5 separate regions of the Homo sapiens genome follow, and all the other regions are linked to region 5. Evidence: promoter capture Hi-C in 16 types of primary human blood cells and fetal thymus (Javierre and others, 2016). All regions are on one chromosome and are shown on one strand. The core of a region is centred on a gene start or on the middle of the fragment in contact, and the rest is flanking DNA. Distances in the headings are between cores, read along the strand shown.

Region 1 (2,700 bases), core at 75-2,574, 340 kb after region 5:
CAGGTTTGTTACATATGTATACATGTGCCATGCTGGTATGCTGCACCCATTAACTCATCATTTAGCATTAGATATATCTCCTAATGCTATCCCTCCCCCCTCCCCCCACCCCACAACAGTCCCCAGTGTGTGATGTTCCCCTTCCTGTGTCCATGTGTTCTCATTGCTCAATTCCCACCTATGAATTTATTTTCAATAGTTTCATCTTTTATTCTTATTATTTTAGCTAGAACTTCTAAAATTGTTAAATTATATTGGCATAACAGACATTGTAATTTTGTTTTTGATTTTTATGAGAATGCTTTATTGTTTTGTAATTATGACTTGGCTGATATCCTGCCAAAAAGTCCACTTCTTCTTGCTTGACCACAGCTGCTGACTCATTTCATTTCACAACTGTACTTATTCACAGCTGTTCTTGCTCTGTTAGGATTAACAGAGCATTAACTATTTACACTATCATGGGAGGGACATGGATCCTGACTTCCTTTGCTGTACACCCACAACCTGTGGGTCAGCCTTCTTCTATCCCATGCCGAAGAGAGGAGGGTAGATATCAGCTCCACAAGAGGAGAAGCTGGATACCGATTTTCCAGGTAGTCTTGTGCTCTTCAGATAGCAATGGATTTGTAACCCATCAACTCTATTTCTGAATTCAGCTTCCAATGATAGAACTTCCTTCCAGATTCTTGCAAATGGCTCAGTTTCAGTTTACAGTACTCTAACTTTTGTCTTGTTTTATGTCTTCATTGCCATTTTAATGGTAAACTGGGAGAGTCATAATAAGACAGCTGACTTGATGCTATCAAGTCCCAGAAGTCTGTCTATCATTTTCAAAAGTGAAAACTAAGGTACTTGGTGAACTGATTTGGTTTATTCATTAAATTAGTAGTCGGTGACTAAGCTAATTACCACAATATAATTACGGTAAATACTACATTTACATATGGTAAATATTTGATGTTCAGCAGAAATAATAAATTTGTGATTTAGTTTCATAAAGACCTGGCCAGGGAGTGATGTAGCTGGAAACAGAAAACCCAGGTATTTTCTGGCTATCAATGTAATCTCAAAACATTATGACACTTTGTTGCAAATATTCATCTTTACCAAAACAAAGGTCACATTTTCATCCCAATATCAAGAAAAAATGGATTTATAAAGGTGAATTCATTTTTTATTTTGTTTTTACAAACACATACAAGATATAATTAAGTCTAGGCAAAGATGAAAAGACATTACGTAAGTATCCGATTTTCTCAGAGTTTCCGTTCCTTAATTTAAAATTATCTTTTGGAAAGAAGAAACACATGCAGAAATAAGTTCAATTTTTACACTTGAGTAATTGTGGGCAGGAAATAGTTTTTTATTTTATTTTAAATACTTTTACTTGAGCCTCCTTCTAAATGTACAGTTATTTCTAATATTATGAATTGCTACAATCAATAAACTGTTATGAAATGACAATAGATGTTGACTATCATGGCATTTGAGTGTTTAACAGCAACTTAACATATGTCATTTATATACTGAGTGACACTATATTAGAAGCAAGAAATGAAGGATATGTTTAGTTTTTATAAAATCTCAAAGATCTATAGTAATTTATTCACAAAAAATTTATTGCACATAATGAACAATACCACATAAAAATACATGTTTGATAGCAAAAGAATACAAGGATAAAACATGTTTTGTTTTGTATTATAAAGATAAAAACAAATATAAATAACTATAAAACAAGCAACAAATTTTTACATATTCCAGTTATTTTCTGAAGAATATTTTGCTTAGCTGAATGCAATTCTTCAGATTTTGGCCATTTACGTACTTTGTAAAATGTAGGTCTACCGTCCTGTGTGATAATTTTGTTTATCCAGAAAAATATTACTAGAAACAGTTCCTTAGGTGACAGTACCTCAAATGTAGCAGCAGGCTCTCTAGTACAAGACTTTTAGCCAATAACCTAGTGATTACTTAAGGACCAATGGAGGTATATACTATTGTTTCAAAAATGTACTGATAAGAAAATATTTGTAAAAGTGCATTATCTGACTAGTGTACACACGAGTCAGCCATGTATTCATTTCAATCTGTGGCATCTCCAAGCCATTGTCTTTAGCTTCCTGAACACTTTGGAGAAACTGAGACTGCACAGCATAAGTGCCATCTAGTGGTGAAGGGTCTCCTAACTGCATTAGGAATTGAGAGAAAGGAAACATCCTTTCTAGTTGGAACGGTAACAGAGATTATATTATATATAGATAAACAAACAGATATTTAAGAGAATGTAGTTATTTCACAAGCTAATTGGGTGTCAGAAGCATGGGTTATGTTGCCAGGACAAGGAGAGAAATGTCTGCTAAAGGCGACAGCTTATGTTTAGGAGTAATAGAAGATATGACTAGAAAAAAAATTGGGTCAAAATGGAAGACTGGAGAAAAATGTTTGGTCTTTACACTACAGGCAATGAAGAGCAGCCATCCATCCAAGAGTCACTGAGCAATTACTATGAGCCAAGCACCATGCTAGCTTCTGGGTGTAAAGTGATGACCAAAATAAACATGGTACCAAAACCTCATGGAACTTCTGACCTAGACAAAACATTAAAAACATTATTATAGCTTCTGAGCAGGAAAGGAACAGAGTCAAAAGACTTGGGTTTGGCCTAGCTCAGTCACTTAGCCTCTGAGTCTGTAG
Region 2 (2,700 bases), core at 178-2,677, 310 kb after region 5:
TATTATTGTTAAACTTTTAAGTTCAGGGGTACAAGTGCAGGTTTGTTACATAGGTAAACTTGTGTCATGGGGGTCTACTGTAAAGATTACTTAATCACCCAGGTATTAAGCCTAGTAACTATTAGTTATTTTTCCTGATCTCCCTCTTCCCACCCTCCACACTCTCCGATAGGCCTCAGAGTGTGTTGTTACCCTCTATATGTCCATGTGTTCTCATCATTTAGCTCTCACTTATAAGTGAGAAAATGTGGTATTTGGTTTTCTGTTCCTGTGTTAGTTTGCTAAGGATAATGTCCTCCAGCTCCATCTATGTCCTTGCAAAGGACATGATCTAGTTCATTTTTATGGCTGCAGAGCATTCCATGGTGTATGTGTACCACATTTTCTTGATCCAGCCCACCACTGATGGGCATTTAGGTTGATTCCATGTCTTTGCTACTGTGAATGGTGCTGCAATGAAAATATGTGTGCATGTGTCTTTATAATAGAATGATTTATATTCTTTTGGGTATATACCCAGTAATGGGATTGCTGGGTCGAATGGTATCTGTCTTTAGGTCTTTGAGGAATCAACACACTGTCTTTCACAATGGCTGAACTAATTTACACCCCCACCAACAATGTATGAGCATTCCTTTTTCTAAAGAGACTTAAAAGACCTAATCAATCAACCATAATATGTGGCCCTTATTTGGATCCTAACTCAAAAACTTACAAAAATTGAGACTAGGGATCTTAAAGACTGCCTGGATTTTTAACGATATATTAACTACATATAATTATATCTACATATGACAACTTATATATAAAACCATAAATTTTCTTAAGTGTGACAATTGGAATATTTACAAGTAAAATGATATGGTCTCTAGGATTTGCTTCAAAATATATCTAATGTGGGGGCAATGTGTGAGAGTACACATGGGTTCATTTATACTATTCTATGTATAAATTACCTTGAATTTTTTTCCAAAGAAAATAATTAAAAAATAAAATACAAACACAAAAACCAAAGTCAGTCTATTATTAATGCCTCTTTCTTGGCTGTAATGCAGATATCTCACATCTTCCTTACAAACATGCTGTAAAGATAAATGAGTTATTTGAAAAGTGCTTCGTCTGAAGTCCTGTTAATCAGCAATGAAGACAAAATGTTGGTGCTAAAAACAAGCTTTAGACTTTATATATACTCTAATGACAAAAAAGGATATCTTCATGTATACGACAAGGAATGTTTGAAATATGTAATGCATAGCTGTAAGTTAAACCAACCATGAGGTATGATTAGTATCAGTTTAATATAATTATTTTAAATTTATATTAATTAAATCAGATGTAAACTCCTACAGGAAAATGTTTGAAAAATTATTTTTGCTATATTTACTTTTAAAAATCTGAATAGTTGATATGATTAGATATTAAGGAAACTAATATAATTGGATTAAAATCCCATGTGCTTCATAATAATTTTGCTTTCTAGGTTCTATGATAAATATAATAGTTAAAAGTATTTTCAAAACAATTTATCCAAAGTCTACTACACTAAATAGTGTTATTGACTTGTTTAGTACAGATTTTATTAAAATGAATGATGTATATAATATTTAAAACAAGAAAAGGCTTGATCTCAAAGACTCACACTTTTTTTTAACCGTCACACCCCTCACCATATTGACAATGGATAAAGCTTTAGTTAACAAAATGCTTTCTATAATGTGTAGGAAATTCAGTTAAGTACCTGTTATTGAGAATGTCTTGCTCAAGAACATTCTTGTGAAGTTTTCTGAATTTGAAGCAATCACTTTGAAGTAAATCACCCTTTCAAATTTGGATTGACAATGGGAGGGGAATAGCTCTTAGGCTTTTCTTCCCTTAATGTGACTATTTCCACAGATGGCTCCCTATGAAAATTAATGAACTAACTTAGCCTTACAAGAAATGCCATTTAGAAGGACAAGAATTATAGCTTGAGAACAGATCCTGTGATCTAAATAACAGAACTATTATTTATATACCTTAGCAATTGTGAAATTTATGTTTTCAAATAATTTTTAAGTAGCATTAAGGAAAATTATTTTCATGAGAAAAGAAGAAAGACAATCAAAAGACAAAAAACTCTGATTTGTATTTAATGTTTAACATTATTAAGCTTAAAGATCTTAGAGACCATTAGAAATATACTAAAAACTAAAAGAGAAACACTATTCTTTTTTCTTGAGATGGAGTCTCACTCTGTCACCCAGGCTGGAGTGCAGTGGCACAATCTCGGCTCACTGCAACCTCCACCTCCCAAGTTCAAGCAATTATCCTGCCTTACTTAGCCTCCCGAGTAACTGGGACTACAGGCGTGTGCCCCCATGCCTGGCTAATTTTTTGTGTTTTTAGTAGAGATGAGGTTTCACCCTGTTATCCAGGATGGTCTTGATCTCCTGATCTCCTGATCCGCCCGTGCTGACCTCCCAAAGTGCTGGGATTACAGGCGTGAGCTACCGCACCCAGCCGAGGAACACTATTCTTAAAAGTTTTACTTGATCCTTACCTGCTGTATCAGAAAATACCAAACTGGTTTTTATCCTTTGTTTATTTAAGAATACATTGTTCGAGACCACCCTGGGCAACATGGTGAAACTCCATCTCTACTTAAAAAAAAAATATATATATATGGGGTAATTAAAACTTTTAGGTAAATAATAGTTATGG
Region 3 (2,700 bases), core at 141-2,640, 480 kb after region 5:
GACAGGGGATGCTAACCCCATTGCTTTAAGCAGCACCCCAATCGCCTTACAAGCAAATGCTAAGCAAGGTTGATTTTTGCTATTTGCAGGTGCCTTGACTGCATTTCTTATTGATATAGTTGAACCAGGAGGAACAAGGCTTTGATATCATTTACCCTCTGTGTGCACGGTCTGCAACCTAGCAGCATTAAAGTCAAATATCTAATTCCTTCTCAACTGGGAATTTGTAAACCACAGACTATGCTTTTAGAGAGAAGACTAGCACAGCCTAGCCATGGTGGGATCCATTCCTAGCACCAAATGGCGTGCAAGGGTGAGTTGAATGGGAAGGCAGAAAGGGTGAGCTAAGTGAGCTGTTCATTCTTGACAGTCTCCGTATTATAAAGTCAATGCAAGATGCTGTCTTAAGTTCAAAAACATTCCTCCAGTATAAATAAGTTTGGTTTATTTGCCATTTTGTATTATCTGCCCAGGTTAATTAAATGTTAGTAGCTGAGAATCCATTTAATTTAATTTATATTTGGGAGAAGCAGACATTAGGGCACCCAGAGGAAAGACTTTCTGATATTGCTATACTTCTATGATTTAAGTTTGAGACTTGACTTTTTGGCAAATGATGTATTTTTTTTTGTTATATTTAAGTTTTGCCCACTTGCAAAGAGTTGAGATTGGTTTTCACAAGTTATAGATCATAGAAGCTATTGCTTGAGAAATCATCATACTTAGAGAAGCATTTCTTTATCAGTAAGTATAGATTTAACCCAAACTAGAAAAGTGTACATTACAAGTCAGTGTATTTCCCAAATGCAGAATGTCAGATTTCATTTTAAATAGAGGTTTAGAAATTCATGGAATCAAAGGACATTAAAATTGATGGAGTAAAACATCCTAAAAGGTAGGTTTCCAAATAATTTGAGTTCTATTATAGAGATTGATTTAATTTCATCTTTTCTTTGCCCTCTGGCACTCTTCTATTTTGTGTTGTCTCTTAAAATGTAATAATTAGAACTTCCTGAGACACTCCATAGATTAAAGAGATCATTACTTGCTATCACTTAAATGCTTACGTTCTACCTTGAGGGGAAGCCTAGACATTTTTTGTTCAGGCGAGACATTTTTTAAATTACGTAGTTAGGATGGATTTGAATCAGCCTCTGACTTACTTTGCTCCTAGGGAAATAATCTCTAATGAAAAATGTTTCCCTTTTGGTTTCTGGTGTTTCCTGGTGGGAAGTTAGTGTCTAGACCCGTTAATGGCCACCAGAGTGACCCGCACTGTGCTGTTGAAAAAAGGGCAGATGTGGTTACTCTATGCGTAAAGAAAGGCCTAGAATTAAATTTGAACATTTTTGCTTCATTCAAGAGCAGTGAGTTTAAAAGGCAACAAAATTAATTTTTTGAACTTATTTATTTGTTGTATTTTACTAATTAATTACACGAGTAATAATGAACATGAGATCTGGGGTAGTAGTTGCCTGGAGTGATGGGTTCAAGAATGCTTAATTGTTAAAAATATCTGTCTAAATAAAAGTGGGCTATGCATGGGTCAGTTACATGTTATGGTTAATCCAAGGCTGCCACCTGAGCACCAACTGAAAAACTAAGACATGTTAAAACAGGAAAAACTTGAATAGGAGAGAATTATATGTGTAAAAGTAGCCTCTCCAATCCAAGCACATCCTATCCTGTCCTTCAGAGACAGCCACTGTTAAGTTCCGTAAATGTCCTTCCAGACCTTTCCTGTGTGCCTGCAATCGTACACACACAGATTCCATTTTTCTAAATGAAATTGTGACACATACTGTTCTGCCAATTGCACGCTGAATTGTTTTTGTTTTTAATATAATAGATTTCAGGCATCTTTTGTTTACTAAGTACAGAACTATACTACTCTTTTTGACTGTTGTGTAGTATTCCATGGTATGGATGCATCATGATGCATTTAACCAGTTTGTTATTGATGAATATATAGTTTTATTCCATTTTCCTAGTATTAGAAATAGTGCCTTGGTTATTATCCTTGTACATGTTTGTTCACATTTTTGTGAGTATGCCTGAGGATAAATTACGAGTTGATTTTTTTTTTTTTTTTGAGACAGAGTCTCACTTTGTCACCCAGGCTGGAGTGCAATGGCATGACGTCAGCTCACTGCAACCTCTGCCTCCTGGGTTCAAGCAATTCTCCTGCCTCAGCCTCCCAAGTAGCTGGGGTTACAGGCGCCCACCACTGCACCCAGCTATTTTTTTGTATTTTTAGTAGAGACGGGGTTTCGCCATGTTGGCCAGGCTGGTCTCGAACTTCTGACCTCAGATGATCTACTGGTCTTGGCCTCCCAAAGTGCTGGGATTATAGTTGTAAGCCACGGTACCCAGCCACAAGGTGATTTTTGTATGTCATTTCTGGACTAATAGAAAAAAGCAATGATATTTTAAAAAAAGAAAACAAAGTGTTTTAAATGAAAGCGCAGTGAAATTGCCTTAAACTTTTAAACATAAACAAAGTCTTTTTTTTTTTTAAACGTTCATTTGGGCCAGTCCCATCAGTTTCTGTATTCAGGCCTCAAATAATCACTCTTTCTGTACATAAAGTGGGACTGAAAGAGTCTTGTTTCCAGGGAGGACACTGGAGCTCTTGGTCTAAGAATGGGACTGTGGACAGCACCCTCAGTGTCTGCAGCGTCTGGCCTCCCCACCCCCGCA
Region 4 (2,700 bases), core at 51-2,550, 260 kb after region 5:
ATGGTAGTGTAAACGTTAAGCTTTTTGGGAGAGAACTCTGGCAGTAGCTATTCTAACAGCAAATGCATATTCCATTTGTTCTAGAAATTACAGGGGGAGTTATCATGTCCCCAATATTCAAGAACCTAGAACGAGTACACATTTCCCCGCTGGGTCAATTCTGCATGTCAGTCTGGTATTCAGACTCCACCATAACACAGGCCCACCTACTCGTTCAGTGCAACTTCCCCACACCAACCTGTCACCCCAAGCCTGTCAGGTCCCAAACAGCACACCTCCCACCCCCAGGCCTTTGCTCATGCTGTTTCATCTTCTCGAAGGACCTTCCCTCCTTGCTTTTCACGTCTCCCTACCTGCTTCAAGGCCCAGCCCAAGCTCCATCTCCACCAGGATGCCAGGTCCTTAGCACAGTCCCTGATATTAAGTAAGGACTCAATAAACGCAATATTTTGTTACTTTAATATTACTAACACTTACACATTTACTCTCTCAGGTTGCTCCCTAATTCTTTGGGGTATGTTTTCTTTACAATTAGGTTGAAAGTTTCTTGAAGACAAGAAATACTTTGGGCTTTCCATGTAAAGACAGTATAGTTTCCAGAGCTTTAACATCACACAGACCTTGGTTGTCCCTCGATCTGCCTTTTTCTTTCCTTTTTTTTTTTTTTTTTTTTGAGACGGAGTCTCGCTCTGTTGCCCAGGCTGGAGTGCAGTGGCGCGACCTCCGCTCACTGCAAGCTCCGCCTCCCAGGTTCACGCCATTCTCCTGTCTCAGCCTCCGGAGTAGCTGGGACTACAGGCGCCCGCCACCACGCCCGGCTAATTTTTTGTATTTTTAGTAAAGACGGGGGTTTCACCATATTAGCCAGGATGGTCTCGATCTCCTGACCTCGTGATCCGCCCGCCTTGGCCTCCCAAAGTGCTGGGATTACAGGCGTGAGCAACCATGCCGGGCCTGATATGCCTTTTTCTACTGATGGTTAGTTATTTCACCTGTAGGCACTAGCCCATAATACCTGCTAAATGCATTGTTACTAGGATGATTACAGCCGTTTACCTGCTCTCTGTATCATGGTTCCCCAGTCCCATCAATGCCAAAATAGAATCAAACTCATGGAAAGTATTCAGCAAACTCTTATTGGAAGTTGATCAGCTAGAGGTCCAAATTGTCACGCATTCTATCAAATACGCTTTAAATGACATTTTGTGTGTGTGGTGCACGTGTGTGTGTGTTTTCACTCATTCATTCATTCATTCATTCATTCATTTAACTAAGAAGAACTCTTCTTTGCCTTTAAGTGGGCTAGTGACTATTCTCAGTTTAGAACTAGCCAAAGAATCAATCTTGACCCAGTTGCTAGGAAACCCTGTCTTTGGAAAGAAGTTAAGAATCAATTTCCCCATGCTTTAAAGAACATGTATTTAAGTAAATTACTTCCTCAGAAATATTGATTCATTCCAAAAGCATTTAAATAATATGAAAAACAAGAGGGTTTTTATGTGGAAGCTGTATCTTGACAGTAAAGTAGATGTGCACTTAAGAAAATATATTTACACAGATAATCTACATCTTGTTCAAGAGAGAAAATAGACTTTAATGTAGTAATAGGACTATTTATGTAATGAACTCTCATGGGCTCTTGCATAAATCATGATTCCTGGGTTGTGTGAATGTTTTTATGTGCCTTTGTGAACTTTCATAAGACTTTGGTTATGTGATTATATCAAAGGCTGAATTTATATTAGCAAATGAAGCATTGTGAAGACATGAAGACATTTTCTAATGGAAACATCATAACCAGAAGCACATTTTCCCAAAAGATGTGTTTTGAAAAATGCTAAATCATTTTAATGGTCTCAATGTCTTGCAAAGGATTCTCTTGGTCAGCAGCTGGCTTCACATGCAATCTCGGACATCAGCAAGCCCTGCTCCAAAGAGGGATGCCAGCCAGCCTGTGAAATGTTTCTGCAAGAACTTTTGGCTGCCTTAACCGCCTAAAGCAAATGTTTGTTTGCTGCAGTACGAGAATCAAATGCTTTTGTGTGAAAACACTTGCTAGAGAAACAAATGTTTGTTTTGGTAATCGACATTTGGACTGTTGGAACATTACCACTTAAGATATTGGTTTGAGAAATATACATTTAATTTGGAAAGCACCAGTCAGGATCAAGCATGTAACACAAATCTAGGCTGTAAGGAAATGAGGTTGAAATTGGACCCAACATTTTCACTTCCCCTTGTCAGTTCTGACTAAGAAAATGGTTCCTTGATTTACATATTGCCTTATAATGTTACTGAGCAGCAGCATAAAAGAAAAAAAACTGATTTACTTCCTTCTGGAAGAGTATGACTTATAAATTATCAAAGAGAGCAGCAAGAGTGTATTTATCTAGTATTAATATTTAAATGCCATTTTCCTATTGAATGTACCACATGCTCCATATTAGTCTTTTAGATTAGACTTAGTACAAATTGATGTTTCCTAAATGGAAGATTTCTCCTTACAGTTCACTTTTGATTATCCATGCTAACTGGCAGGAGGAAAGGTACAGACACTCCAAAACAGCAGGAGATACAGAAATAAGCTTTGGCTTCTGAAAGCATTAAATTTTTTAGTAGCAAAAAGAAACTAATTACATTTTAAGGGAGAGAGATACAAGGAAGTTTGTGTGGCAAGAGTGTCATTTATACATTAAACAT
Region 5 (2,700 bases), core at 14-2,513:
CGCTCTTAAGTTTCTCTGTGTTTGCATAATAGCCGTGCATGCAAACCTCGCAATGCTCCAGGGCTCCAGAACAATAAATATACACATTTAAAGCCTTTATTGTCTTACGGTTCATGCCCCCGGTTTTCAACAGCTTAATTTCTGGTTGTATTTAACTAGTTTGCAAATGGATTTTTTCAGTTTCAAACTATTATTGAGGAAGCTCCCCTCCCTTTTTTGGCGGGGGAGGGGATGGGGGTGGGGTAGGAGTCGGTATATTATTCCTGTAGCGCTGGGTTATATAAACACATTATCATTTGAGAGCGCCCTTGGCGTCCATCAGCATTGTAAACACGTACTAGTGTATATACTTCAAAATTAAAGAATGCACACGCAGAACCGGGAGCCTGAATTCATATTCTGAGCAGACTCGCTTCTCGCATTTATTGATTTATCATGCATCGTTTATTGTTCCAGTCCCTAAATGCAGTCGCTGTCCGTTCAATATTGTTTGCGAAATCCTAAGATGTGTGTGCACTGCTCACTTGTCTCTTTTTTTTTTGCTGAGTATTTTTTTGCGAAGCGAACAAATGCATTAATATTTATATGTTTATATAATCGATAACCCACTTTTCCCTTCCATGTAAATAGGCATCAAAAGATAATTTAACAGATTAGTTCTCGAAAACATGGCAGTGAGGAAGCGTAATTTAACTATCAAACAAATCTACATGTCTAATAACAGCAAATCTGCTAAGAAGCATTAGAAAGAGGAGCAGCGCCCCGGAATCTCTGCAGGAAATGTTCTTTATATTAGACATATACAAGCAGGTCCTGTCAGATGCACAGTGGAGCTCGCTACCCCTCCTCTCCTCCAAAAATCTCATCAGACGATATCCCAGACAGGAGCGGTTAGAGAGAGAGGAATCACATCTCCACACAGTTTTAGGGTGCTTTTTATTTTTACAAATCTTCTTGTGTGTTTTTTGCCTTGATCCATCCTCTTCCCGCCGAGATCGTATGGCGCCTTTCTCTCGATTATGAATTTGATCAATCCATCTTTGGAAGAAAACCCACATAGTTTTTTCAGGAGCTGAAAATTGAGTCGTTATAGAAATATTAGGACATATTTTCAATCATTTCGGTGCCCGAAGGGAGGCAAGAGCTCAGTTTTATATTGAGACATTACGCCGGCTGAAGGCAGAGAATGCGTTTCCCTGCCAGGACCTGATGCAATCCATTCAAGCCAACAAGTTTGGAGAGAATGTTGAGTTCAATCAATTCAGAACGTCGAGATGGAGCCCAACTCACTCCAGGTATTTCGCTCTCCTCCGCTCCTCCGATCCCGGCACCCCCCGGCACCCCCCAACCCCCCAGCTCACCCACACCTCTGCACCCACCCACACCCCCCACAAACTTTTCACCAAACTTTTACCCTCTGCATCCCCCAAAATCATTTTTATTGTTTAAAAAAATCCCTGCACTGATCATACATACATAATGTAATTTTACCGCCTCAAATGGGGAGGTGGGTAGAAGTGGCGGTGGGGGGCCCTGAGTTTTTTTTTTTTTTTTTTTAGGGAAGCAGAAAATTTGTGGGTGCTATTATTTTTCCACCCAGCGTTATATCTGTTGGGTCGTCTGTATTAAGAGAGTGGATGTCTGTGTGTAAATGTGTCTGGGAATAGATGTTTGTGCTCTGATGGCTACATTATTTATTTGGTGTTTTTTTCCCCCCCTGCAGTGGGTCGGCTCACCGTGTGGCTTGCACGGACCTTACATTTTCTACAAGGCTTTTCAATTCCACCTTGAAGGCAAACCAAGAATTTTGTCCCTTGGCGACTTTTTCTTTGTAAGATGTACGCCAAAGGATCCGATTTGCATAGCGGAGCTCCAGCTGTTGTGGGAAGAGAGGACCAGCCGGCAACTTTTATCCAGCTCTAAACTTTATTTCCTCCCAGAAGACACTCCCCAGGGCAGAAATAGCGACCATGGCGAGGTGGTAAACCTGTCTGTCCCCCTCTTCTTTCTTTATTATTTTTCCCCCTAGTAATGCTTATTACAGGGCAAGCTTGAAAATACTGTATTCACTTCTGCAGGCAAGCAGGATCGACTCCTTTTTTAAAGGGGTAGCGCCACTAGCTGGGGCTCGAGTATTTTGCCATTGTCAGAGTTTGGCTGTCAGCTTTACAAAGAGGATCCAACTGCTGATTTTAGTCAAGATCAAATAACTTGTTCGAGAAGGGTTTTGTTCAAGGATGTGTGTGTGTGTGTGTGTGTGTGTGTGTATGTGTGTGTGTGTGTTCATTTGCTCTCCTGCTATTGCCTCTTGAACATCACATGCTTTTTATATTTTTTGCCTTTTGAAAATTTACCTTCGTGTCTGGCTCGGTCGTGTCTGGGTGGATTTCTTTCGGTGGGTTTCGATATTGTTCTTTTTTCAAAGTAAGTATTTGATATGTTTAAGAGGGCGGAAATTACGAAATGGAGGCAGAATGAGATCAAAAGCTATTGAGTTGGCAAAGACGTGTTGAATAAAGTGATAAATGACAGGTACTGGAATAATACATTCAAATAACTTGCAGATCTGCCCGGGCGGATTTCAAAGCGGTGGTGTAACAGGCACAAACACGTTAAGCATTAACAACTATCTCTCGCCCACTCCCCCTCCCCCCGGACAAGCCATTTGATGTTCTAGTTTGCAATTACTCCACGCAAAGT

What was found. The method cuts DNA at HindIII sites, captures the fragments that hold promoters and counts their contacts. A CHiCAGO score of 5 or more calls a contact.
Region 1: a fragment that was not itself captured here is called in contact with the fragment with the promoter of ARID5B in region 5 in 17 of 17 cell types (activated CD4 T cells, fetal thymus, neutrophils and 14 more); the score reaches 23.1 in activated CD4 T cells.
Region 2: a fragment that was not itself captured here is called in contact with the fragment with the promoter of ARID5B in region 5 in 4 of 17 cell types (neutrophils, non-activated CD4 T cells, activated CD4 T cells and 1 more); the score reaches 6.0 in neutrophils.
Region 3: a fragment that was not itself captured here is called in contact with the fragment with the promoter of ARID5B in region 5 in 1 of 17 cell types (total CD8 T cells); the score reaches 5.7 in total CD8 T cells.
Region 4: a contact is called between a fragment that was not itself captured here and the fragment with the promoter of ARID5B in region 5, in 2 of 17 cell types (monocytes and total B cells). The highest score is 6.8, in monocytes.

The regions. Positions count from the first base shown.
Region 1 is chr10:62,243,034-62,245,733 of GRCh38, forward strand. The region is part of intron 3 of RTKN2 (rhotekin 2); the gene reads right to left. Among named protein-coding and RNA genes, the nearest start is that of LINC02621, 15 kb to the right of the region's middle. The HindIII fragment of the contact is 7,871 bases long and covers 1-2,700 here.
Region 2 is chr10:62,209,463-62,212,162 of GRCh38, forward strand. All of the region lies in intron 9 of RTKN2 (rhotekin 2), which reads right to left. Among named protein-coding and RNA genes, the nearest start is that of LINC02621, 48 kb to the right of the region's middle. The HindIII fragment of the contact is 516 bases long and covers 1,170-1,685 here.
Region 3 is chr10:62,376,949-62,379,648 of GRCh38, forward strand. All of the region lies in intron 2 of ZNF365 (zinc finger protein 365), which reads left to right. Among named protein-coding and RNA genes, the nearest start is that of ZNF365, 3.9 kb to the left of the region's middle. The HindIII fragment of the contact is 3,368 bases long and covers 1-2,700 here.
Region 4 is chr10:62,164,767-62,167,466 of GRCh38, forward strand. No RefSeq gene overlaps it. Among named protein-coding and RNA genes, the nearest start is that of LINC02621, 93 kb to the right of the region's middle. RefSeq lists an enhancer at 1,941-2,070. The HindIII fragment of the contact is 2,565 bases long and covers 19-2,583 here.
Region 5 is chr10:61,900,436-61,903,135 of GRCh38, forward strand. It overlaps ARID5B (AT-rich interaction domain 5B), which reads left to right and starts at 1,264. Exons shown (of 10, transcript NM_032199.3): 1 at 1,264-1,295; 2 at 1,724-1,978. The coding sequence starts at 1,275. RefSeq lists an enhancer at 954-1,456 and a silencer at 2,696-2,700. The HindIII fragment of the contact is 3,094 bases long and covers 1-2,048 here.